5 separate regions of the Homo sapiens genome follow, and regions 1, 3, 4 and 5 are each linked to region 2. The links are contacts of gene promoters, found by promoter capture Hi-C in blood cells and fetal thymus (Javierre and others, 2016). All regions are on one chromosome and are shown on one strand. The core of a region is centred on a gene start or on the middle of the fragment in contact, and the rest is flanking DNA. Distances in the headings are between cores, read along the strand shown. Region 1 has its middle 17 kb from the start of HCCS. Region 2 holds the start of MSL3 (MSL complex subunit 3). Region 3 overlaps ARHGAP6 (Rho GTPase activating protein 6). Region 4 overlaps ARHGAP6 (Rho GTPase activating protein 6). Region 5 overlaps HCCS-DT (HCCS divergent transcript).

What was found. Contacts are between HindIII fragments. The CHiCAGO score rates a contact against its expected background, and 5 or more counts as called.
Region 1: a fragment that was not itself captured here is called in contact with the fragment with the promoter of MSL3 in region 2 in 6 of 17 cell types (monocytes, M0 macrophages, M2 macrophages and 3 more); the score reaches 9.6 in monocytes.
Region 3: a contact is called between a fragment that was not itself captured here and the fragment with the promoter of MSL3 in region 2, in 1 of 17 cell types (M0 macrophages). The highest score is 5.6, in M0 macrophages.
Region 4: a fragment that was not itself captured here is called in contact with the fragment with the promoter of MSL3 in region 2 in 10 of 17 cell types (neutrophils, total B cells, M2 macrophages and 7 more); the score reaches 16.8 in neutrophils.
Region 5: a contact is called between a fragment that was not itself captured here and the fragment with the promoter of MSL3 in region 2, in 2 of 17 cell types (neutrophils and M2 macrophages). The highest score is 6.8, in neutrophils.

The regions. Positions count from the first base shown.
Region 1 is chrX:11,125,480-11,130,827 of GRCh38, reverse strand. No RefSeq gene overlaps it. Among named protein-coding and RNA genes, the nearest start is that of HCCS, 17 kb to the right of the region's middle. The HindIII fragment of the contact is 4,762 bases long and covers 1,179-5,348 here.
Region 2 is chrX:11,754,623-11,759,486 of GRCh38, reverse strand. MSL3 (MSL complex subunit 3) reads right to left here and starts at 1,250. Exons shown (of 13, transcript NM_078629.4): 1 at 1,122-1,250. The coding sequence starts at 1,223. MSL3-DT (MSL3 divergent transcript) reads left to right here and starts at 1,404. Exons shown (of 2, transcript XR_007068393.1): 1 at 1,404-2,735; 2 at 3,967-4,864. RefSeq lists an enhancer at 803-1,097 and silencers at 951-1,330, 1,341-1,490, 1,511-1,710. The HindIII fragment of the contact is 7,532 bases long and covers 1-3,699 here.
Region 3 is chrX:11,164,298-11,169,635 of GRCh38, reverse strand. It overlaps ARHGAP6 (Rho GTPase activating protein 6), which reads left to right. Exons shown (of 13, transcript NM_013427.3): 9 at 1-131. Among named protein-coding and RNA genes, the nearest start is that of HCCS, 56 kb to the right of the region's middle. The HindIII fragment of the contact is 2,593 bases long and covers 543-3,135 here.
Region 4 is chrX:11,143,529-11,148,587 of GRCh38, reverse strand. ARHGAP6 (Rho GTPase activating protein 6) reads left to right here. Exons shown (of 13, transcript NM_013427.3): 11 at 4,340-4,608. Among named protein-coding and RNA genes, the nearest start is that of HCCS, 35 kb to the right of the region's middle. The HindIII fragment of the contact is 5,339 bases long and covers 1-4,519 here.
Region 5 is chrX:11,099,326-11,104,698 of GRCh38, reverse strand. All of the region lies in intron 2 of HCCS-DT (HCCS divergent transcript), which reads left to right. Among named protein-coding and RNA genes, the nearest start is that of HCCS-DT, 9.1 kb to the left of the region's middle. RefSeq lists an enhancer at 1,396-1,595. The HindIII fragment of the contact is 227 bases long and covers 3,028-3,254 here.

The DNA of each region.
Region 1 (5,348 bases), core at 2,310-4,809, 630 kb after region 2:
ACCAGATAAATGAGCTGGCCTGACCCTGGATGAATTTCTTCACAGTCATTCTGAAAATGTGAGTGTTAAGTGTTGAATTGTGTTCCCCTCAAAAATGTGGAAGTCCTAGCCCCCAGTACTTGTGAATGTGATCTTATTTGGAAATTGAGTCTTTGCAGATGATCAAGTTAAGATGAGGTCATTAGGGTGGGCCCTAATCCAATATGGCTGGTGTCCTAAAAATCAAGGGGATGTTGGGGCACAGACACAGACACACACAGACACAGACACACACACACACACACGTGCATGCAGAAAACACCATATGAAGACTGGAGTTATGCTGCCCGATGTGAAAGAAATCCCAGAAGCTGGGAGAAAGGCCTGGAACAGATCCTTCCCTAGAGCCTTCAGAGGGAGCATGTCCCTGCTGACACCTTGATCTTGGACTTCTGTCCTCAAGAACTGTGAGAGAATAAATTTCTGTTGCTTATGCCACTACATTTATGGCCCTTTGTTATGGCAGCCACAGCAAACTAATGTGTTGAGCAAAGGTCAAGTAGCAGGAATCACCCAGAGCACCTTTCCTTCTCCAGTGAGTGCTACCAAGAAAGCGTTTTCCTTTTGAGACAACAATTCTCATAGAAGCAGCGTACACTAAGAGGGACCTTCTGTTACCCAGTCTGGGAGGCTGTTGTCTTCACCCCATTATCTTCCTGCCCCCACTATCATCACCTACAGAAGTCATATGAAGAAATGAACTTTCAGAGGAAAGCTTTTCATTATTAAAGCAAAACAAAGGTGTAATCAGGCAACATTCAGAAGTGAGGGGAGCAGGAGGACTTAAAGAAGAAATGGAAAATAAGCAAAATTGGGGAAGTGGCATTTACATTTAAGATTTGCTTTTGCATCTTCTGCATGGGAACTTCGACCCACGGCTATGTGACTATGAGGCAACTGTAAATGCATCACAAAGATGGGGGTGGATGGAAGCTCAAAGGATTCAAAAGATGCCAGAGGAAAGTGAAGCTCAAATTGGGCCCCCTGGCCCAGCAGCATCAGCATCTCCTGGGAGCTCGTTAGAAACAAGAATTCTCAGCCGCCCCAGGCATACAGGATCAGGAATTCTGGGTGGGGGCCCAGCCATCTGCGTTTTAACAAGCCCTCTAGGGGATTCTGATACATAGTACACAAAAGCTTGAAAAGCATCTTGCTGGGGAAACCACAAAAGGGAGAGAGGTGGAAGGGGAAAGGCAGCAAGATCCAAAATGCTGTTCTAAGGCAATGCTTGGCCTGAACAATGTCAAATCATACTTTTAAAAAAATCCAGCTGAAACTAGAAATCATAAAATGATCACATGTTACATTTTACCTGAAAGCATAAATGTACATCATTTACTAATCTTTCAACAAGGAGCCAAGGCCTTTTGCATCTCTGGGTGCGGTGGGTCAGCAGTGCCACTTCATCCTTCTTACTAATGCACAGTGGATGAACCACATCCACTGTGCATCATCTATTCTTCCAGTTCCAGGGCTTTTTTTTTTTTTAACAGCAAATTTAAGAAACGACTACAAAGCAGTGAGTGAAAAATTATTCTGATTTTTATGATATTTTCTAAACCCCTTCCAGTTTCATGGCAACATTTTTTGGGATTCTCCTTCAAAGCCTTCCTTATCATTCATTAGTCTTTATATACTTGGCTTATGCATTTACATTGCATTGTCTGTTGTTTTGGTTAATTAAAATAATTACGTTACTGGCTCATGCTAAGCCGGCTGCTCAACTAGGAGGATGGGGACCTCCTGGCTGTAGGGATCAACCAGCACGTTTTTATTTCTTTTTTTTTTTTTTTTTTTTTTTGAGACGGAGTTTCGCTCTGTCGCCCAGGCTGGAGTGCAGTGGCGCGATCTCGACTCACTGCAAGCTCCGCCTCCCGGGTTCACACCATTCTCCTGCCTCAGCCTCCCGTGTAGCTGGGACTACAGGCGCACGCCAACATGCCTGGCTAATTTTTGTATTTTTAGTAGAGACGGGGTTTCACCGTGTTAGCCAGGATGGTCTCGATCTCCTGACCTCGTGATCCGCCCGTCTCAGCCTCCCAAAGTGCTGGGATTACAGGCATGAGCCACCGCGCCCGGCTATTTCTTTTTCATTTTTAAAAACAGCTATAATTACAAACCACACAATTCACTCATTTAAAGTATACAGTTCAATGGTTTCTAGTATAGTCACAGAGTTGTGCAACCATCAATTTTAGAGCATTTTTTAATCACCCCCAAAAGAAACTCCCACGTCCATTAGCAGTCACTCCCCATTCCTCCTCCACCAGCCCTGACAACCACGAATCTGCTTTCTGCCCCTATAAATTTGCCTATTCTGAGGGTTTCAAATAAATGGAATCATACGAAAGTGGCCTTTTGTTTCTGGCCTCTTTGAGCACAATGTTTTTAGGGTTCATCCATATTGTAGCATTTATCAGTACTTCATTTATTTTTATGGGTGAATAATATTCCATTGCATGGATATACCAACATGTATTTATCCATTTACTAATTGGTGAATGTTTGAATTGTTTCCAAGCCAGCACATTTTATAGAGGGAAAGGAAAGCACTGGTTAACTTGGAATTCGCTTAAGTGTAGGTCTTTTAAGAGTGTGTCTACTGATGTAGTTTATATAAAAACTAGTTTGAAATAGGGTTTCAAACCACATTGTTTTCCCTTAACTTAAAGATTCTCAACCTGAAAGATGACATAATTCAGCCCATTGTAATATGAGGCCACAAACATTTTGGTATGAAAGGAGCCTTTAAGATAATTTCAGGAAATTGAGACTTACAGGCCTAAGGTGGCTTGTCCCAAATCTCCCAGCTTAACACAGGGAATCAGTGCAGAAACAAAGCTCTCAAATCTTGTTTTATGCCATTACGTTAGCTACCACCTCCAGATTTAAAACCCTGGCATAAGAAAAGGGCTCAGGCTGGGCTTGGTGGCCTAAGCCTATAATCTCAGCACTTTGGGAAGCTGAGGCAGGCAGATCACTTGAGTTCAGGAGTTCAAGACCAGCCTGGGCAACATGGTGAAATGCTGTCTCTACAAAAAATACAAAAATTAGCTGGGCGTGGTGGCATGTGCCTGTGGTCCCAGCTACTAAGTAGGCTGAGATGGGAAGATCACTTGAACCTGGGAGGTAGAGGCTGCAGTGAGTCAAGATCGCACCACTGCACTCCAGACTGGGCACTACAGTGAGGCTCTGTCTCAGAAAAAAATTTTTAAAAAGGTTCAGATGAAGGAAAAAGACCTTAATGAAATGATGTCTAAGAATGGGATTTTAAATCAGCAGTGAAGGAATCCTCTTGTGGTCACTACATGTCCTCCTGATGATTTGTCTGAGCTAATCTAAGCATGAAGCACGCACAGGAACATAAAATGGGAGGGGTGGTAGGACACAGGCCCAGTGCTGAATTGGCCCAATTAGACTGAAGAGAAACCTTATTTCCCATGGTTGTGGTAGATGGCCGGGTCCCACCCCACCTCATATCTACTGACCATAAACAAGGATCTCAAAGCAACTAGGAAGCATTGACGCTGATGAAAGGAACCAGCCCTACATGGATGAAGTTAAAATTGAACATGGAAGGAAAGGGAGTCCAGAGAAGCAGGATCAACCAAGTGTACACCCAACCTCTGCACTTCTGGCTGTGAGTTCAAGCAGGGATTCACTTACTAGAAGCCAAAAGCATCCTGATAATATTCTATAGCAAACCATTGAAGGGGCACGGGAATTAGTCACATTGTTATCCCAAATGTAGAAGGAATAGCAAAGTGTTTAAATGATGATTCTGCACAGAGCTCCAAAATAGTAACTTTCAAAATAGTAACTTTTCATTGTTCTTTAGGACTTCACTCGTCTATGATTGTGAAGACTTGTCTCACAATTCCTCTGTTACAACACTCAAGATGTATTATTTCTGTGCCCCTATCACATATGACCTTTGGTGTGTAAAAGCATCAATGAAAAGCTAATTATAAATACAAGATAGCACCCATATGTACATGCCTCATTCCCTAAACCAGTCTTAGGAACTATGTTTGCTCCTGCATCTGGTATGATTCCACAAAAACATTAGAATACTTGCAATGTGATGTATAAACCTCCGGTTGAATCATTTGCAGAAAGTGTTGTCAGCTTTTTCTTCCAAACTAGAGAGTGCACAAGCATGAAATAGACACTTTACCACTTACACCAATGGCATGAAATTTTACTGAAGGTACAGTGACAATCTCTACTGCAGCAGTAAATGTTTTTCTTTTTAAAGTTCAGAGGCACATGTGCACACTTGTTACATAGGTAAACTTGTGTCATGGGGGTTTGTTGTACAGATTATTTTGTCACCCAGGTATGAAGCCTAGTACCCATTAGCTGTTTTTCCTAAGCCACTCCCTCCTCCCACCCTCCACCCTCCAATAGGCCCCAGTGTGTGCTGTTCCCCTCTGTGTTCTTATCATTTAGCTCCCACTTATAAATGAAAACGTGATATTATTTGTCATGAGTGGCGCAAGGCATAATTCATATGCTTCATTTTGATATACTATATACCCCCCAAATTATATAATTTTTTAAATGTTACCTTAAGTTACAAGGAATATACATGGCTTTTGAAATAATTTTTGATCTTTTTCTTTGCAGTAAACAACCTTGTAATATGTTTTGAATCCGGATATGTAATATATTTTCACAGAGGGGGATAACCTTGTGACCCAAAGGACATTACAGTGAGCTATATTTTAGATTAAGAAGCACAAGAATCGCAGCACTTTGGGAGGCCGAGGTGGGTGGATCACTTGAGGTCAGAAGTTCAAGACCAGCCTGACCAACATGGTGAAACCCCATCTCTACTAAAAATACAAAAAAATTCGCTGAGTGTGGTGGTAGGCACCTGTAATCCCAGCTTCTCAGGAGGCTGAGGCACAAGAATCACTTGAACCCAGGAGGTAGAGGTTGCATTGAGCCGAGATCATGCCAGTGCACTCCAGCTTGGGTATCTGTCTTAATATAATATTTCTTTTTGTCAAGTGGGACTTGCATATCAAGTACCTAATTTGTTACCCTGATATTTTTTGAAAGATCAAAGGCTGTAACCTGTTCTTTTTCCATTTGATGATTTTAAATAACATGAGCTTTCTTAGAGCAAGCACCCAAACACCTGGTAATCCTTAAAATTGATCAAAATGGGGATTAGAGCCTGCTGTTACCCCTCTAAACTGATTCTCCTGGTGGCGGAGTGGGGCGGGGAATAAGGCCAGAGGATGAGAGAAGTAGATTATATCTCAGCACTTTGATTTCTCTCCTTGCTGTTGTTGATCAAT
Region 2 (4,864 bases), core at 1-2,500:
AGAGCTCTGGGAGTTGTAGTCTCCTGGGCTCCCCTATGTCCAGTGCCAGGATGGCTAGCTGGAGACTCTGGAATCCCTCCCTGTTGTGTCCCTAGAGGGAACAACTAAAACTAATGATGGGGCGTGCCCCCCCCCCTCCGCCCCGAGGAGGCTGGAGGGCGAGGAGAAAGAGGGATAGCAGACGCGGTTAAAAGACAGGAGCAGCAGGGGAGGGAACTGAAGGCAGAATATGCTCATCCCTTTAGGGATGTCCTTTAGCATCTCTAATGGACAGAGCTGTCCAGACATCGCCAAAGACACACCTGGGACTGCCCCTGTCCCTGCCGCCTAAGGCTTCGCCCAGGTGGCCCTAGGAACCCAGGTCTCTGAAATGAAAGCACCTGGGTGCTTTCCTTGGGGATCTGGGAGACCTGGTGCCAACTCCTGCCCGCCACCCAAATCTGAGGAGCTGCAAGATGTGGCTCAGCTCCCGGAGACTTAGGTGGACCGGCCCGGGGCGCGATTCCCATCAACTATGGTCAGACCCACGTAAATCCTTCAGAGTTTGAAAACGTAAATGCTGCAAGGCCCTGGGGTACGAAAACACTGGGCCAACCTTGCCCTCGGGATGGGGTTCACGGCCTACAGGCGGGATGGGGCCTAAACTGGACTAGGGTCCCAGGGACACAACGTCGCAAGTCAGCGGCCAGCGCCGTGTAACTATGAATTAGAACCTGGATCGGACGGCCAGGGCGTCCCACAGGAGCCCACCCGGCACCAGGCCGCACAGAAGGAGACATTTAACGCGAAGACAGAAACCGTATTCGAGAAGCCTCCTCCCTCAGCGGCCACCGTTGCAGTCGGGGGCGCAAACGGTAGCCCCGGTAACGCGACAAAGCATGGGCGAGGCTCCCAACCGCGCGTGCGCCGCCCGGCCTGACGGAAGGAAGTGGAAGCATCCCAGACCCCGCCCCGACTCCCGGGCGTAGCGCCCTGTGAGCGCCCCCTGCCGGCCGCACCGCTCCTCGCAGGCCGAGGAGCCCGGCCGGTCCCTCAGCTCCGCGCGGCCGTCCGCCCCCGCCCCCGCCCCCGGTCCCGGGTCCCCCAGCCCGCGCCTCCTCCCTGTCCCTCCGCGGCGGCACCTTGGCATCGTACAGCACTCGCGCCTTGGTGGGGTCAGGCTCGAAGCACAGCACTTTCTCCCCTGAGTGGAATTTAAATTTCATGCCCTCGCTCGCGCTCATTTGCTCATCGTGGCGGAGGGCGAGGCTCCGGGGCGGGCGGAGCGCGCGCGGTGGGGGAGGGCGGGCGGGGGCGGGGAGGCGGTGCGCCGTGGCCGGGGGGGGCCGGGAATGGCGGAGGCTGCGGCCGCCCCGCCCTCGGCCCCTCCTCCGCCCGCCCCGAGCCGCTGCCGGGACCTCGGAGGCGCCTGGCGCGCGCGCTCCCGCCCGGGCGCGTCCCCGCACGTCCCCGCCGGGGCTCCGGGAGGGGTGCGGGCGGGGAGCGCGACCCCCTGGCCAAGGTCTACCGGCAGGACGTCTCCCGTCGCCCCCATGGGAGAGGGTCCCCGCGGCCTCCAGGCTGCGCCCACGTGCGCGCAGGGTCGTCCGTCGCCCCGAGCGCCCGCTCTCCGGCCCGGGCGTGGGAGGCGCCTAGGGAGAGAGAGAGCCGGTCTGGAGTAGGCACCCGGCGGCCGGGAGGCTGGACGGCGTCTGCCCCCAAGAGCTCCCTGGCCGTGCGCGCCGCGTCAGCCCCCTTGGCAGAGCAGCGCGCCGATGAGTGTGGCCACGCTTGGAGAACGCAGCGCTGGAGCTGGCCCCAGGCGGGCAGTGGCCTCGGGCGAGGGCAGAAGGGCACTCCGGGCTGTGAATAGAACACTTGCTTATCCCTTCAGAGGACAAGCCGGTGGCAGGCCTGGAGCCCCCAGTGACGGGTTGAGCAGTGGGCAGCGAGGCAGATGGGTCCTTAAAGAGTAGCTGACGTCTTCAGTGTCAGCTTCTAGCGTGGCCTGACAGCCCCCAGCATCCCCGGAATGCCCCCCACGGTCTATCTGCTCCAATAGACTAAAAATTCCCTAAATAGAAGCACCCTTGAGGCCGCTATCAATATGGTACCTGCACAGAGTGGATGTTAAGTAAATACTTGATGAGCGAATGACAAGTGATGGGAGACTTGAAGGACAAACTTCCAGGGACAGGAAGGACAGTGCTGGGCTTTTTCTTTTGAGTTTTGGAAAGCCGTTGGGCAGTGTAATTACTGGATTAGGACCGGGCTGGAGACCAGCTTCCAGGCTAATCTCTGCGGACCTGGTGAACTTCCCCTTCTCTGTTCTAGCCTCCAGAAAGTTGCATTTGCTTCCCCTCTGCACGCTTCCTTCACCAGGTTCCTGGTATACATCCTTCACATTTCAGCGTGGGCATGCCAACAGAAAAGCCCTCAGGCTTCCCAAGATGAATCATAAAGCCCTGAGGTGTTCCCTCCCAGGACTCTGCTTAACCCCTTTCTTGCATGTACCACTGTGCTATAGAATGGGTTGTTCATTTGCAAAATGACCTCATTAAGACAGTAAGCTCTTTGAAGCTGGGGGTAGGGGTCTTATCCAATTCATCACGGCGTATTCGTGGCACATAATATGGAATGAATGAACAGATTGATTTAGGAAATAGAACCCACAAAACTCAGTGGCCAATTGGATGTGAAGGAGAGGGAAGGAGGAATCTTGAGAGACTTCCAGGTTTTCTGGCCCAAGGAATTGGGTGAGTAATAGCTGCATCCGCCAGAATAAGGCTATACAGAGGAGTTAAAGGTTGGGGGAAGATGGTCAAATGGCCTTTGGGGTAATACGGTGCAGAAACTAGAACTGGAACCATGATTCCTCTCCAGGTTGTGGTGTATCAGAGATGAGAACAGTAGATGGTGGTGTTCCCCACAAATGGCAGGGGCGGCTTGGAAGCACATGTAATTGCACGTCCTGTGTAAACCGTAACTGAAGTATTCACCTTTTTATTTTTCCTGCCCATGATTGGAGAGAGTTCTGCTGCAGGCTCTACCCTTTCAGGGATAGGATTTTAGATGCTTTCCTTTGTTTCTCCGCATTTCCACCCCTTCTTATGTCATTGAGGAATTCCTCTTTCCCCGTCCCTCTAAAAAGTCCAAGAATGCAAAAGCCTTCAGGAACCTAAAAGTTAAAAAGCCTGCCAATGGCAGCACCCCTTACAGTCCTCCTCCAGATTAGGATCCACTAGAGAGGGCTCCACCCTTAATGCAGGACATCATTTTTCCTCTCGGGTGTAAAGGTTAAGAACATGGCCAGCTCTGCAAACCACTCTCCAGGACCCAGTCCCATGCTTGTCACTTTCTAGCTTGTGACCATGGACAACTGGTTAGTCTCTTTGTAATGCACTTTGTTCATGTTTAAAATGAAGGAAATAGTGGCTCCTACTTCATAGGGTTTTTTAGGAGTCAATGAGTCAATTCAGTGTACATGGCTTTGTGTAGTGCCTGACATATAAGGGCTGGGTAAATATTTGCTCTTGACATTAGGCATTTCTTATCTGTTTCTCCGTGTCCCCCATTCATTCATTCATTCATTCAGCAAATATTTATTGGACCTCCTGTGTGCTGGTTGCTAGACACACAAAGTAGAATACATACATTACCCCTGTCCTCCCAGAGGGCACATTTCAGGAGGGCGGAGCAGCAAGCAATCAAGTTCAAGCTTTATGTGCATACCCTGATAAAGCTGGTGTGGAATAGAGGAGACAGAAGAGCTTACTTCTCTCTAGGAGGAGGGAGAGTATCTGAAAAAGCTCCAGAGAGGAAGGCACTCTTGAATTGCAACTTAGGTGTTTTCCTCATTTTCCAGTTTTTGAGGTTTGGACAGTAGTTTCGTCTGTATTCGGGCATGATTATAGAATGGTCTTGTTTTTGTCGGGATTAAGATAACCATTAAATCTTATAACAAATCTTTTTGATTTCTCATTATAGGTCACCTACAGGAATTGCTTCTCTTAGCAAGGTGAGTGCAGTGCGGGATCCAGTTAGTTGCGTCGCCCGCCGCCCCGCTGGCAGAGGCCCAATTTTGTTCAGGTGTTTGCCATCCCACATTGTTAGAGCAGACCTCTCACCAGGGCTGGAGTGACACTTGATCGGGCTAATACGGTAGGACTCACCTCTGGGTATACATTTGGAACAGCTGGGGAACTTTGAAAACTTGTTAAAATACTGTTGCCAGGAGTTGGAATTTTGTTTCCAAAGTTCCCAGGCGATTCCATTGTGCAGGCGGGGCTGAGAACTACTGGTCTAAACCAATCCCGGCAATCCCCTTCCTCTTACAGTGACTGGTTTAAGTATGGTCATGTGATACACGCCTGGCCAATGAGAAATTCTCATAGCGAGTTAAAATGGGGAACTGTGAGTACTTCTGGAAAATATTTTCCACCTGCCTCCCCCCAAAAGAAATACATCTGGCATAAAGTCTCCTCTTCCTCACTGGGTGTTATCATCTGCATCAGAATGCGGCGTTGGAGAGGGTGTCAGTGCTGTAGCCACCTTGGCACCACGGAGCTGGCCATCGTCACTGAGGCTCTGAGGATGAGAGCCCAAGGCTAGCACTCGCTCACCTGGGTCACTGGGGAGCTGTTGAGCCCCTGACGCACTAAATTAACTAATCCTGATGCCTAACGCCAAACTTCTTGCTCTGTGACATAATAAACCTCCATGCAGCAAAAGCATCCTGATCACGCCCCTCCTGCAGTTGTAGAGTTAGGTTATTGGCATCTGGTATGTTGTCTATTGCTAATTTTGGTGATACTGATGAGACAGACCTCTGATGGTGAGAATGCATTTTTCCATGGACATGTAGACATAATTGATGTTGCATTTG
Region 3 (5,338 bases), core at 590-3,089, 590 kb after region 2:
CCAACCTGCTGCACAAGCAGAAGTCATCAGACAAAGAATTCTCAGTTCAGAGTTCAGCCCGGGCTGAGGAGAGCACGGCCATCATCGCTGTTGTGCAAAAGATGATTGAAAATTATGAAGCCCTGTTCATGGTAGGTGGCCCTTCTGTGGCAGGACATCACAGCAAACTGCCTATTGGTTTCCTCTGGAGGCAGGATGAAATTCTAGTAGACCACCCTCTGGGGTGCAGTGCTGCTCACTGAATTCATTGGAAGTCAGGCAGTTTCAGCAGGAGTAGAAATTTGCACAACTATGATGTCATTTTGAGTTTGTGACTCCATGTTTAAACAAACATGCCAAATTATAATTTTCATTTTGTTGTCCTCTAAACCATGGTCACATTTTGGAGTCACTTAATTATAAAGCAGTGTCCTTGCTCAAGACATTAATAAAACCCTTCTTTATGGAATTGTGTCCCTCATGAATTCATGTATTCATAAGCATCCTCAGTGGTTTCACCTCCTCCAAGGTCAATCTTGACATTTTACCTCCTACATGAAGCTTCACCTCTCCTTCCTTTGTCCTTCCCATGCCACTTCTCTGTCCCCTGAACTCCATTACTGTTCTTACTGATGTTTATCTTGCCCAACATTGTGTATAGTAATTTATGACCATTTCCCCTAGTAGAGTATAAATGCATTTAAAACAAGGACTGCACCATTGTTATCTCCTCTCCATATCCTCTGTACACTTTTGGAAAGCCCTCCATCTGGCAGGCACTCAATAAATATTTTTTTGATTTGTATTGAATTACCAGTTCCTGTTTTCCTTCATCAAACTGCATTGCTTGCTACAACTTCCCTTGAAACATTAAAACAAATGCCAACTCTCTTCTATTTCTGTTCACCACTAATATTGCATGTCAAAATTTACAGGAACCTTCTTCATGTTTTTTCTCCCATTTCTCTTGTCAATTTGCAAACGCTATAAAGCCTGCCTATTCCACTAGAGCCTTTTGTGGCTCCTTCCTTCAACCGAGAATTCTAGTTACCTCTTTTAAATTTCTTTAGTAGTTTGTCTACACTTATCAAGTGCTTTGCATTAGATTTATGTCCATGCTTGTCTTATACTAATTACTTTTTGTAAATTTGAGACCCAGCAGTTTAGAGTATTTGCCCTCTGTGTCTTACCTATGTGATTGTGACCAAGTAATTCAATACTCATTATGCATCAATTCTAGCTTTAGAAATGGGAAAAACAAAATGATGATGTAATTCTCAGGGTGGTGACCAGAATCATTTGATACGTGAAAGTATTGTGCAAACTGTAGCAGTTTATGCAACTGTTAATTAGTAATTATATTAGTTGGGTAACACGTGCTGCCTCAAAAGTCAGTACTTTAACACAAACATAAATATCACTCTGACATAAAGTTTAATCAGGTGTTAAGTGGACAGCCTTCCAGGTGGTGATTTAGGAATCCCAGCTCCTTGTATTTTGAGGCTCTGACATTTTTTAGAGTTTTACGGGCAACCCCAGAAAGGTCATCCATCTTGTCCACTCAAATCTCATTGGCCAGAACTTATGCACAAGCCACACTTAACTTCAAGCGAGGCTTGAAAATGTATCCTGGTTGGATCCCCAGGAGGAAGAGCAAATGAAAAGTTCACTGAGGTAGAATGGCATCTTGTTCCTGTTTGTGTCTCTGAAGCACTGTCCCTGGGTTGCACATGCTAAGCTCTCAAAAAATGTTGAATTAATAATTGACTCTATATAAAATTTACACATCAGCCTAAATCCTCATAATTAACTACATATTTGGATGAATCAAATGTCTGAACTTTTCAACATTTTCATCAAGTTTAAGTCACATATCATCTTGCCAAGTAGTCTTGGCATTACTTCATGTTCTCTGGATTTTTTTAACAAAATAATACTTCTCATCAAACTTAATTCTATTATCTAAGCAAAGTTCTCCTTTATATGAAACCACATATCATCGAGCATTTCTTTTCAACTCAGATACCAACAAAAGTTTTCCTGGCTTCTTTGAAAATATAGCTGCTGCCATTTTAATTGTGCCATCCCTCTTCTTTCCATTTCCTGCCACCTGAATTACTAAGAACAGTATAAAAACATCAGTATTCTACCTTTTCCAGCTTTTCCCAAATCTGATCTTTGTTTGCCATTCTCTGTAGGGATTGATGTCGGCATTCTCTCATATTTTTGGTCTCCAGTTATAGTCTTTACTTCTCATAGAGGCCTTTCCTGGCCACCTTGTCTAAAATGCACCTCCACCCTCCATCACACACACACACACATCATCACTCCCTATTTCCTTTCCCTGCTTTTTCCCCTTAGCACTCACCACTGTTAACATTGGGTCTTACAAATTTCTCGTTTATGTTCGCCACTCCCTAGAAATGTAAACTACATGACAGGATGATTTTTTTGGTCCATTTCTATCTATAGTACTTTCTTTACTGCATTACCCCTGTGCCTGGGACATGGTAGGAACACAATAAATATTGGTTGAATTAATGAATGACTCAATGGTTGTTCTGTGACATATGATTTCCATATTACCAAGCCTTACTCCTTATACGTATGAAAAGATTTGGGCATGGAGAAATTAAGGATACCTTTCTTGGAGTAAGTTAACCATTAATGTAATCATTCTTGACCTCTTTAGAAGGATTCTGGTAATCATATATTCAGAAAAATAACAGTGGAGTGGGAGGAAGAGGGAGACAAATATCTCAAGTCTTGGTCTATGAAAAGAAACTGACTCTGGAACCAGAAAATTTACTATCGTCCTGTCCCTGTTATATATTGGCTACATGACCTCATCTTCTTCTATTTCTTTAGTTATCAAATACTAGATTTGAATGAATGATAGCCAAGACCCCTTCTAGTTGTAAAATCTGCATGGTGCTATGCCCTAGCACTGACTTCCCTTCCTTCCTTTTTATAAAGCACAGGAGAAAATTAATCTCATCACATTTTAGATTATCTTGGCATATTTGGCAGTTGAGAAACTAGTCGGCTATACCAAGGCTGGTGGTTTGTCAGCAAAGCTGATCTGCATGGGTGGACAAAAATGTAATCTTGTATGTCGCTATGTTGTTTTGTTTTGTTTGGCTTTTTAAAGAAGCTTTCAGAATTATTATAATTCCAAACAAAGAAGGATGAAGCTAGTCAGGGCCTGATGGTTAAAAGTAGTTAGTAATTGTGCAGTTTCACAGTCCTTGGGTTTAAGAGCTCGGAAAGGGAGGTGTCACTTCTATTAGCATTAGAAAGGAAGACTTGTTAGGAAAGGTAGCTGTGAGCTTGTCCTGGAAGGCAGAACAGACCTGGAGGCAGTGATTCCATAAAATAACTGGTGGAAGGGATGTAGAAGCTCACAGAGGCCTGGCAGGGACCCAAAATTTGTTCTGGGTGTTCTAACATCCTTCATTTCCTGATGCTGAGACTGCCTCTCCCAAGTGGCCACTCTCTGAGTTAATGGGAAAGGGCGGAAAAGAACCTGGCTTCGTCCTGTAATACAGAAGAGGAACCTAGATGCAGAGGTTGACACACAATTTAAGAGTCTGGCTAGGACAGTCTTTTGCATTGGTTGTTTGCTTTTCAGGTACTGGTTTGGAAATCCTTGAGCTGGAAATAGATCATAATAGCAGATATCATGACCACAGATATCAAAATACGAAGGCAGTAGATTATAATGGTGGTTCTCAAACTTGAGTGTGCAGCAGAGTTGCAAGGAAACTTAGACATTCAGATTCCTAGGATGCACTCCCGAGAATCAGATTGAGTAGCACTGGGATGGGGCCCAGAAATAATCTGCACTTTCTAGTGAAGACCTCCACAGAGTTCTGGTAGTTTCCTAACCACACCTTTGGAAACCATATCTTGGGAAACACTGGTATGGTAGAAAGACCATGTGCATTGGAATGAGCTACCAAAATTCAAATCCCTGCTCAGCCACTTATTTGCTATGTAATCTTGGGCCCCACAGTTAACTTCCCTAGCCAAAAGATGAAACAATGTGACCTAATTTACAGGACTGTTATAAGAATTAGAAATGACATTTTAAGGCACCTAGAACAGAATTAACATATATTAGGCATTAAAGGAAGATTTCTGCTATTATTACATTAAAGGGATAAGGTGCCTGCTCTATCAAAGCGTGTTTGGGTGTTTTCTTGGAAATCAAGCCCACTCTGCCCACTGTGTATAATGCTGTGACCTGATCCCACACATATATACTCCTAGGCCCTTACTCTGCTCTTTTTATTCCATAGCATTTATTACCTTTTAACCCACTATATAATTTACTTATTTTTATGCTTATTGAAACCTAACAGAATACAAACCTTATAAAGGCAGAGATTTTTGTTTGTTCTGTTCACTGACATTCATACCACCTAGAAAGTATATGGCAAAAGATGGGTGCTCAGTAATTATTTGTTGAATAAATATTGCAATTCTGTATTACTAGAAAAAAAATGTATTTTTGTTTCGATTTTGTCCAGTGTCCATACTGCTTATATTCCCTTACCTTTAAATCATGACCCTCCACTTCTGATATCAACACCTGTTGAAAAACTGGCTAACATAAAATGATACTCTGTGGGAGCACTGGAAATCAAGGATAAGAATCATTAATATCTACACAAAGTCATTGGTATTATCCTAACCAGAAAGTTCTCACTGACTAAGTCATTGATACATGAATTGTTCTGAAAGTTGTTACTTCTGTAACTAATATTGGGAATTCCAGAGAAAACTCATCATTGCTCTTGGGATTAGTAAGAACTTCAGAGCAGAATGGAGAAAACTGTCAGCTTCTTCTAAGGGCTGATATTAAACGATTCTTACTAGGACTTCTTCTTAGGAGAGGGGCAAGAAAGAGAAGACACCACCCTTGTAAGCTGATGAAAAGTCCGGAGTGCAGTGGAGACGTGGGAAAGCCAGTGTGTTCCCACCCCACTGAGTTGTCAGCCTGAACTGGGGACCAGCTTAGTGCACGTGGGAAATTTCAAATGAGCACTACTGGGAGCAAGGGTCAGAGGCTGTGATGAGGATTCCGAGTCAGAAGCCAAGCTTTGCTTTGTGTTCTCTTCATTCCCTGATGAAAATCGCATTTTCTTAAAGCCACTTTGCACACCAAGTCAAAGAGTCAAGCATTCATCCAGGTCATCAAGCAAGAAACCACCCCTCCCAGTATATCCACATAATTATATATGATTTCCATTTCCTTTTCTATATATCACAAATACCACTGTCTACGTGCCAGGGTTGGGCTACTCATTACGTACATTATTGGCTTGTTTAAATCTCACTACCATTTCATGAGGAG
Region 4 (5,059 bases), core at 601-3,100, 610 kb after region 2:
TGGTTAGCTGAGATTGGCCATGCATGCTGTATGTAGATGGTCCTGGGGTTTGGGGGTCTAACGGGGAAACCCTCCATGCATGGAGGCAAACCCATGTAGACTGGTGACCTGTCCACCCAACCTCAATCCATGATGCTCTGAGACTGGAAAGAGAAGCCACCAGGCACTTTTGGATGCCAACTTATGTCAACTGGCAACTCATTCACCCAACATTCTGAACCTCAATCCATCAAACTCCAAGACATACAAAGAGATGTCACTATGTGCTTTTAGACTATTCCTCATCTAGTGAATCACTGATCAGAGTAAAAATTTCATGTAAATAGATACATGAGTATTTTAATGCCTTTATTTGGGACCCTGAACTCAAAACTATCTTCTTAGGGTTGGATTATCCTAGAGTCAAATCTGAGAGAAAACATTGTGGTTGCTTATCTCATTTTTCGGACATATCCAAAAGATGGTATGGTTTTCTAGATTTGACACTGAGTGTCCTGTGGAAAATCACTAAAACCTCCCCTCCTGGGCCCATTTCTCCACCAGTGTTCAGAAATTAGAGTGCTGCCAATTGGAACTGGTTTGTAGGAAGGTAATGCCCACTCAAGAAGCTCCCAGAGCTGACTCACAATGATGGGTTTTAGCCACCATCAGGCACCCTGGTCCTGGCAGACAACCACTTCTCTGACAGTTGTAGCCTGAAAGGTAGTTTTTCTTTCTTTTCTCACTTTTATCTCTAGGTTTCAGGGTCAGAGAAATTTCCTTTCCTATAAACTTTTACCATCCACATTTCCACTACACTACACCCGGATTTATTCACACCCTGTCTTCTTGCAGAATTTCTGGATTATAAGAATTTGTTTTTTGATTTGTGATTTTTATATGGAAAATCTTACAGAACTTTATAGATTTTACCTGATTTATAAATTTGACAAGCTGCTTTTACAATAGCTTCCATAAACTTAGAAATGTTTCAGAAACTGGGATAGAATAGAAAGATTTAGAAGTGGAAAATGGAAAATGGACAGACACAGGAAGCACAGGTGTGTAATGAAGGTATCCACAATGACTGGATGCCCAGCCCCCATTACAGGAGAGACATGCTCTGAAAGGCCCTCACAATTCTGCTTCCAAGTCTCTGGAAATTTCTCCGGACTCCAGCCTCCATTCAGCAATCCTACTCTCTCTCTGTTCTGTGTCTTTACTTCCAATTGTATCACCTAAGTGGGTGTATGTGTATATGCATGTGTATATAGTTGCATTTATGTGTATATGTAATATGTGTCTGTGTATATGTGTACATGTCTATGTCATATTTGTGTGTGTGTATATGTGTTTATGAATATGTATATGTGTGCATATGTTGATGCATGTATATGTATGTGTTCATATGTTGATGCATGTATATGTATGTGTTTATGTCTGAATATGTATATGTATGTGCGTGTGTGTTGGGTATGTATGTATATGTGAGTATGTGTATATATGTTGATCCTGGATTTGCTTCTGACAGATATAAAACAATAGAATGACACTATTTTTTTAAAAAATCTATGAACTGCCTATGTTGTTATGAGAGTTCTGAGGAGTGAATAAAACAGCTTTTTTTTTTAATCGGTGTGCTTTCATGTGAGAAGATAATTCTTGGACATAGGTTCTTAGGCAAATTTGGCTGCCACTTCCTGACCTCTGCTAAGACAATAAAATGATAGGGAAATATTTTAAACATTTTAAAAGGCTATTAACTCTAAGTAAGAAAGAGCATTTTACTACTGATTTGTAATAATGTTGAACACTATCTACCAAATAAATTCTAGAAGAATCCCAACCCTAACTGCCTCTGCTGCTAGAGAGCATGGTATTCAGCATTCAGTCAGCTCCTTGTTTCTTTCACTCAATCCCAGACTCAGGTCAGGAAAAAGGAGAGTTGTTAACAGTAGCTTAGTACAGTGCCTGCCACATAATTAACTCTGTATAAATATTAACTTTTACTCTCCTCACAGGCCAAGGGGATATTTCACATAAGTATATTTCCCAAACTGCTTGCCATGTGTACTCACACTGTATCTCCTCCCATGGCTGGGATACACTGGGGGGTGGGGAAACTGTGAAAAGAAGACATCGTCTCTCATTGGATGCCCCCTCTGTCTATGTCCCTGGCTGTGACCCCAGCCATCCCAAGGAGGTTCAGAGCCTGTGTCTACTATGAGACACCTCATCTACCTCTACCTCCAGGGATTCGCTTCAGCCACCCCCACTGTTTCCTCCCTGATGGAGGGCCCAGCTGTGGTCACTTTGCCGGCTTGACTTAGGAGACTGAACCAGAAGAGCAGAGAACACTACACTGGTACTTCCTACCCCCCTTTCACTTCAAAATGTTCTGATCCACAATGGGACTACACTACATTCAGTTGTCTGGATCCTGCTTAAGGCAGACAGAGGAGGTCCAGGAATCGGCTGGGATGGGGACACCCTTCCTCCTTCTCCTAACTGTGGCCTCAGTCACCCCAAGGTCAGGACCACCACATTCACTCCCAGGGCAGCCAATGCTGCAGTTTTGGCTACCATCTTTGGTTTCCCTCCTGATTTGGCTCTTAGCAGACCTTTAGCCCACTGTCACATCTACAGATTGAGAGAGGAAAATAAGGTTTGGTTATTAGAGGTTCCCAAACATCCCCGTGCATCAGAATCACCTGGAGGGATTCTTTAAAAAATTTGCTGGCCCCACCCTGAGTTTCCCTTTTAATAGGCAGAGCTGACTTTCAGGGCTGTGACTCCACACTCAGAAGAAGCCCACATTTGGTTTACTGATTTGCAGTGGCCATCTTGAAATGCTTAACGCTTTTTAAACACGGGGCATCACATGTTCATTTTGCACTGGGCTCCACAAATGGTGTAGCCAGTCCTGTCAGTAGGTCCAGAATGGAGCTGTAGAATTGGCATTGCCAACAAGTTCCCAGGTGAGACAGATGCAGCCACCCTGGGATGCACTTCACAACCACTCAATGAGATCTTGCAGACCTGGAAAATCATCCTCATAGCAGTCCTCTGGCTCCTTCCCATAAGATTACGTGATGAGAGTTCAAAGAGGAGGCAAGGAAGGGGCTTCTTTATTCCATGTTGGTAGGAAATGTCCTCAGCAAAAGGGTTCAGGCCCGTGTTTGCCTCAGTTACGGCTGTGGCAGTATCACAGAAGCTGGGATGTTTTTCCCGGCGATATTAACCCCTGCTGGAAACCTCAGAGGAAGCTAGATCCCTGTGAATGCACTTCCTCCAGTTTGCATGCACAAAACCATTTGGTTAGGAAAGTGTTGTTCAGGCATGTGTTTACCTTCTTTAAGAAATAAAAAGGATTTGTTTTGAAAAATTAAGCCAAAAGAGAGCAAAGACTAGTAAAGAGAAGTGAAGTAAGGGGGAAAAGATGTAGGTTCTGGAACTTTTAATCAATCTGTGATTGTTTCCCTTCAAGATGTTGTCAGGGCCAGTTTTGAGGAGGGTAGAAAAGAAAGATGTTTCCAGGTAAGACTTCCCATGCTCTTTTCACGTTGCTCAAGTTCTCATTTTTCTGTTCCACATACATTTTCACTGTTATTTCTGTTTCTGTGACAACTCATGAACACAGAACTATGATAATGGTATACTAATTAGTACATCATATCAGTTTGTAAAAGCACTAGTGCCTTGTAGAATCATTTTAGATGTATTTGAATAAAATGGAGTCTAGTGAGGGTCATATATTTATTGTTTTTGTCACTACTTTATACATGAAACACTTATTCCCACCGGTGGCATCAACATCTTTATCACATGAAGGATGGATTTATTTACACTAAGTACAGTAAGTATTTTGGTGGGATGGAAAAGTTGTCCAGAAAGCCATAATGAACTTCAAGCAAAGTGTCAACCATAGTTTTATCTGAATTATTTTTAATGCAGGATATTGAGGAAAGTGAAAGAGTTATCTACTAGTGTATCCTTACCTAATAGATAGTGAGCATCAGACTTTCACTTAAAAATGGAAGCAGGAATGAGTCCCTGAGGCACTTAGCGATGCCCATTGGCAAATGCAGGGCTCCTTGTCGGTTTCATTCTCACCGTGCCTTCTCCATCATTGCCTTTTCCTGTTATATCTGTTGGGTTTTACTGCCCTCTGCTGGTCATATCGTTGAAACCCTTTCACGTCATGGATGTACATGTCTTGGAACATTGCTCAAAATGGTCTTTTTGTTTCAGCCCGTGTCCACGCATACTCCTCCAGTCATTTGTGTAATAGCCATATTGTTTAAATCTGGTCACTACTTGTTAACAAACTCACGCACCTGTAATTGTCTCATTGTGCCAGAAGCCCTGACATGCTGCAGTCGGAAGTTTCCTTTTCCGTGGGAGGGAGGCATTCATCTACAGACTCCAACAAGGCCTCCAGCGGAGACATCTCCCCTTATGACAACAACTCCCCAGTGCTGTCTGAGCGCTCCCTGCTGGCTATGCAAGAGGACGCGGCCCCGGGGGGCTCGGAGAAGCTTTACAGAGTGCCAGGGCAGTTTATGCTGGTGGGCCACTTGTCGTCGTCAAAGTCAAGGGAAAGTTCTCCTGGACCAAGGCTTGGGAAAGGTAACTGGAGCCTGGCCAGCAGGCGCTGGCCAAAACAAGCGACCCTCCTCTTGTTGCATGTGGCATGGTGTGGGGCTCTTCGGACCTTCTCTTCGTCTCTCCCTTATTTGATGTTTCTGTAATTCAACCTGCATTTACCGAGTACCTGCTGAACGCCTACTCTAGGAAGAGGAAGGTATGGCGAGCCCAGTCGTTGGCTGGGAGGGTCCCTGCAGGCCACACTCCAAGTCTCAGATATCTGGGAAATAAACGCATGCCCAGAGGAGCCACTCCTATTCCCAGCTGATTCTTTTTCCCTCCAGCATCCTAGGAACTTTATGTATACTGGATTTGGGTTGCATATTTGCTAGTCTGAGGTGCCACCCAATTACTGCTGTTACATTTCTAAAGAAAACAAGCTGAACCTACTATATGTATGAAGACAACCTTCCAGAACCAAATAGTGTTAGTA
Region 5 (5,373 bases), core at 1,892-4,391, 660 kb after region 2:
ATGGATGGTAAAATCCTTCAAGGCTTTGGTTTTCTTTGCTCTCATTCCAAATTTACCAAAGAACTTTGCGACTTTAGTTTGGCTTTCCTATTAGGAAGAGAATGCATCACTAGCCAACCTAAATTTCTTCCTCCTTGGCAGTCTTATTTTTTTATTCTAAACATTGTGAATTAATGACTTGGAGAAAATAGGAGTAATGGAAGGAAAATCAATAAGGCAAGGCATGAGTAGCTTTAAAGGAAGGAAGGGAAGGCTCTTTGAGTGGTTTGGACTCATTGTAAAGTGGGATTGAAAGATTAAACCCGCAAAAGACAAGTTGACAAACCATCCTCTACCACCACCACATGAAATGCAGTTTTCCAAGAAATGTGCTTTGAGGGACCCCATTTTTAAAACACAAGTAGTAGCATACTTTATATAGGGATTTAACTGTTGTTCTTCACCTAAAATATCTTGGAGGTTTTCCATATCCATCTTTCTTTTTATTTAACAGATTCAAGAATTAAAATGTAAATTTTCATATCAGTACATACAGTGTTCCATTTTGTTTTTATTTAGGACATGTACACTATTCCATCATATAGATTAATACAGTTTATGTAACTGGTCCCTTACTAATCAACTAAATTGATGTTATATCCAATACTTTCCTATTACGACAATACTACAATGAGTAATATTGTGCTTACATCATTTCTCACACTGTGTGAGCATATCTTTGTAATACCTAGAATTAAAATGACTGGGTCAAAGGGAATGTGCTTTTAAAACTTTGATAGTCACTTCTAAATGACCCGAGATAGGTGGTTGTACCCCTTGTAGCTTCCCTCAGGAGTGGATGAGAGTGCCTGTTTTTCCACACCTTCATCAACACAGTGTATTGCTTTTTTTAAAAATTGATTTGTAGACATTCTTTATAAGGAAATTAACCTTTCTTCTACACTATGAGGTTGGAATATTTTCTAAAATTATCTTTTTTTGTTTTTGCTTCTGCTAAGTTTTGCTTTGAGTAGTTTTTATGGATCTTAATTTTATAATCTTCTATGATTTCTGGATGTTGTGGCATAATTAAAAATATTTTAAGTCCTAAATTCTCCCAAGTTTCTTCAATTAAAAAAATTACACTTTTTCCTTTAAACCATTTATATATTTGAAACTTATCCTGGTGAAAGGAATAAGGTATAGCTGTGCTATGGTATGAATATGACTTGTTTGTCCCCATCAAAGCTAATTTTGAAATTTGATCTGCAGTGTGGCAGTGCTGGGAGCTGGGGCCTAATGGAAGATGTCTGGGTCATGGGGTAAATCCTTCATGAATGACTTGGTGACTTTCTAATGGTAGTGGGTTCTCACTCTCACAAGACTGGATTAATTCTCGGGAATGGATTGGTTCCGGCAAGAGCAGGATTGTTACAAAGTGAGGATCCCCCTCATGTTTACTCTCTCTTCACATGTGCCTGGTTTGCCTTTGACTTTCTCTGCTGACTCAACATGAAAGCCCTCACCAGAAGCTGAGAAGATGCCGGTTCCATGCTTCTTGAACAGCCTATAGAACTCTAAGCCAAACAAACCTCTTTTCTTTATAAACTACCCAGCCTCAGGTATTTTGTTGTAGTAACACAAAATGGACTAAAGACAAGCTCCAATGACTACATCCATTTTATACTCTCCTATGTTTTGGATTCTCTTGTCTTTAGTCTTAATGTTTGTGTGTTTATTTTGGATTTTCCAGGGATTATTTCATATAATCTCAACTAATAATGATTTTACTTCCTCCCGTCCAACTTTAATGCCTCTAATTTCTTTTGTTTTTTTTTTTTTTTTTTTGAGACGAAGTCTCGCTCTTGTTGCCCAGGCTGGAGTGCAATGGCATGATCTCGGCTCGCTGCAACCTCCACCTCCCAAGTTCAAGTGATCCTCCTACCTCAGCCTCCCAAGTAGGTAGGATTACAGGCACCTGCCACCATGCCCGGCTAATTTTTGTATTTTTTTTTTTTTTTTCAGTAGAGATGGGGTTTCACCATGTTGGCCAGGCTGGTCTCAAACTCCTGACCTCAGGCGATCCGCCCACCTCGGCCTCTCAAAGTGCTGGGATTACAGGCGTGAGCCCCTGCGCCTGGCCTCATGCCTCTAATTTCTTTCTCCTGCATAGGCTAAGACTTTCCAGCAAAACGTTAAATAAAAGTGGCAGTAGACATTCCTAATTTTTGTGGAAAAGTGTCTAGTGTCTATCCATTAAGCATTTTGCGAACTTTTAGATTGGCATAAAGTTTTTTGTCATGTTTAAGAAGTATCCATATATCTCTATTTTGTTATGAGTGTTTTACAAAATCAGCAAGTAATTTAGTGAATGGGTTTTCATAGAAGATGATAAAGGGGCAGAGTTTCCCCTCTAGGTCAATGTAAACTGAGCCAGCACAAGCAGAGAGAGGAGTCCAGAGGCAGAAGTGACCATAGGAGCCTAAGTCCCTGAGGAGTAACATATAACTCAGGGAAACTTGATATTCCATGGACCATGGACTGGGAGATTCAAGTGAATAAGACCTTGGGGTCCAGGAGATGGGGAGGCCAGGCCTAACTGACAGAGGCTTATACTTTAAGGGTGAATTTATTAAACAAATATTATACAAAATACAATGAGCTGATAATAAAACATTCTTTGTTCTTAAATTTATATATGTGTGCTTGTGTGTACTAATACTGAGGCCCTTAAACCACTAAGATTTAGGATTCTTAAACAAAACAGATTAGGTAAAGTTTGCCTTCCAAAGCCAAGGGGAGAGGGGTGGCCAGGGAAGGAGAATGTTCTGGCTGGAAAGGAGACAAATTCTGAGTAAAGGAAGCTGAAGGACAAACACTTCTACTCAGGATTTAGCATTGGCAGGACTGTTTGGTGTGTAGGAATTTAGAACTGGGTCAGTATTATTTAAAGGACTACAAACCTGGTTTTAAATTTAAAAGGGGTGTGGGGGTGGAGCATGGCAGGTGGTGAACCAAAGGAATTTACTATGATCTGAAAAATAAGCTTAAGTACTAACTCCACTGTGGGCAGGGAGGCAAGAACCTTCCCTTTTTTGAGTTGAAGATAAGCCTCTTCAGTCTAAACTTTCCTAAATTCCACTTCTTCTTTTTCTATAAAACAAGGTGAAGTACTTTATGCTAGCTATCAAAAATCATTGACTGTATGTTGCATGAATTTATGAATTTATTATGCTAGAAAAGTGTTTCTTGGCTACTTCATATGTATATAAGCTTTCTCCCTCAACACAGTTTCTGCTTTTTATTTTTGGAATCTCACATAGCCTATATCTTGTTTTCAGAGTAGATACTATCACTGTGGGTGGCTGAGTTCTCATCTATATGCAACCAAGGCTAACTGGCTCTCTAGGTTACCTTGATGCCACCCACTGAGAGTCCTTTCTGGATTTAGTGATTTAGTGCTGCTTATTTTCACCTTCTCTCAGGATGGAGCCTCAGAATAGAGACCAGGTTGAAAATCAGTCTTTTACTTAGAACCATGAAAGCAGATACTACATCTTATCCGTCTATGACCTGGTGACCCAGAAGCCATTAATTTGACATTACCAACATACCTCCACACAAAGACTTTATAATCTTCAGTGTGAGAATTAAACAAACAAACAAACAAAAACTTAAAACAACTTTGGAGGGGAGAACGATAACCTAAATTTTAAGCATAAGAAAATCCCTAACAAAAAGATCCAACTAATTGCCACTGGGGGGCGATGGAAGTTCGTGAACTGCTCTGCTAATCCCTGAGGCAACTGAGCACTTTAGTTGGTTTATTTATTCAAAGCTGGAATTTGGACGTGTGACCCATCAAGCTCAGGGAAATTCCTGGATGAGGAACACAGTCCTGGGAGAAACCTACCAAAGATGGAATTAGCACCTTGGCGAACCGCCTTCAGCGCAAAGAACTTTCTTTCCTTGTGTGTCTTAAGAATTTACTTCAGTTCCCTTCTGTCTGAAGCAGAGGAAGCCAAGTTAAACTGTGAATAAGCACGACAACAAAGAAGAGTTCTTATTTATCACTACCTGCAAACACATGTAAGTGCACAGTTTAAACAGCATTCAGACATCTCACAGCCACTAGGATCAGAGTTTTGGTGTGAGTAGGCCTCAGTTGGTAACTTTCCTGAGGAAAGGAGGGAGGTTATAGAATTTATGTTAGGAAATTCTGAGTCATAGATAACACTTTAAGTGACAGTTAAGGAATCTAGTGAGAGGGACTTTGGACAGGTTTAGAAAAGTACCCTATGGAAACAAAGGAGGAAAAAAAAAGTATCTTCACTGCAAGAGTAATATTGCAGCCACTTGGTGGCGTGTTGTGGGCTTTATTTCTCCTTCCAGATTCCCTCGGTGGTGTCTGGAACCACTGGTAGGATAGGGGTCCTGGCACCAGACTTTGGCCAGCCCAGTCATCAGGCAATATCAATGTTAGGGGTCCCGTTGCTACTTCTACTTGGTCTTTTTTCCCTTCCCAAGATTGCCAATAAAGTGTCATCAGCAGCCGGGTGTGGTGGCTCATGCCCGCAATCCCAGCACTTTGGGAGGCTGAGGTGGGCAGATCACCTGAGGTCAGGAGTTCAAGATCAGCCTGGGCAAAATGGTGAAATCCCATCTCTACTAAAAAAAAAAAAAAAAAAATTAGCCAGGCGTGGTGGCATGCACCTGTAATCCCAGCTACTCGGGAGGCTGAGGTAGGAGACTCGCTTGAACCCAGGAGGTGGAGGTTGCAGTGAGCTGAGATAGCACCTCTGTACTCCAGCCTGGGTGACAGAGCGAGACTCCATCTCAAAAAAAAAAGTGTCATCAGCACAAGAATTTGTCCTGCTTCCACTCCAGGAAGGGCCAAAGGGGACAAAGAGATATGGAACTTAAAAAGCAAGTCTAGAATGCACTTTTGTGCATAAGACATAAATATATCCATGAAATCATGTTGCATCCCCTGTGTAACAGGCTCTCCATTTCAAAAGCCCTCCAACTTGGCATAGGGATGACCTAAGGGCTCTAAGATTGCAGCTAAGATAAGGACCCATGGATCCCAATGCTCAGTGCCCTATGTCCTCTGGAAGTTGCTGACACATGTTTCTGAGGGACACTCAGAAAACCTGGAAGCATGTTATATTAGTGAGCACATTTTGGATTTTGAGTGAGAAGTCCAGCTTGAGTTAACTTAAGCAGAAAAAGAAATTTTGGGATCACACTCTTAGGAAGTCTGGGGTGGGTAAAGCCTCAGGAAGGGCTGGATCCAGTCATTCTGCCTCTATCTCTTGGCCTGATGCCACTTAGTTTGAAGGCCTCTCTCCTAACTTCTTTAACATTTGGGGGAATTTGCTCTGACTGGGTCAC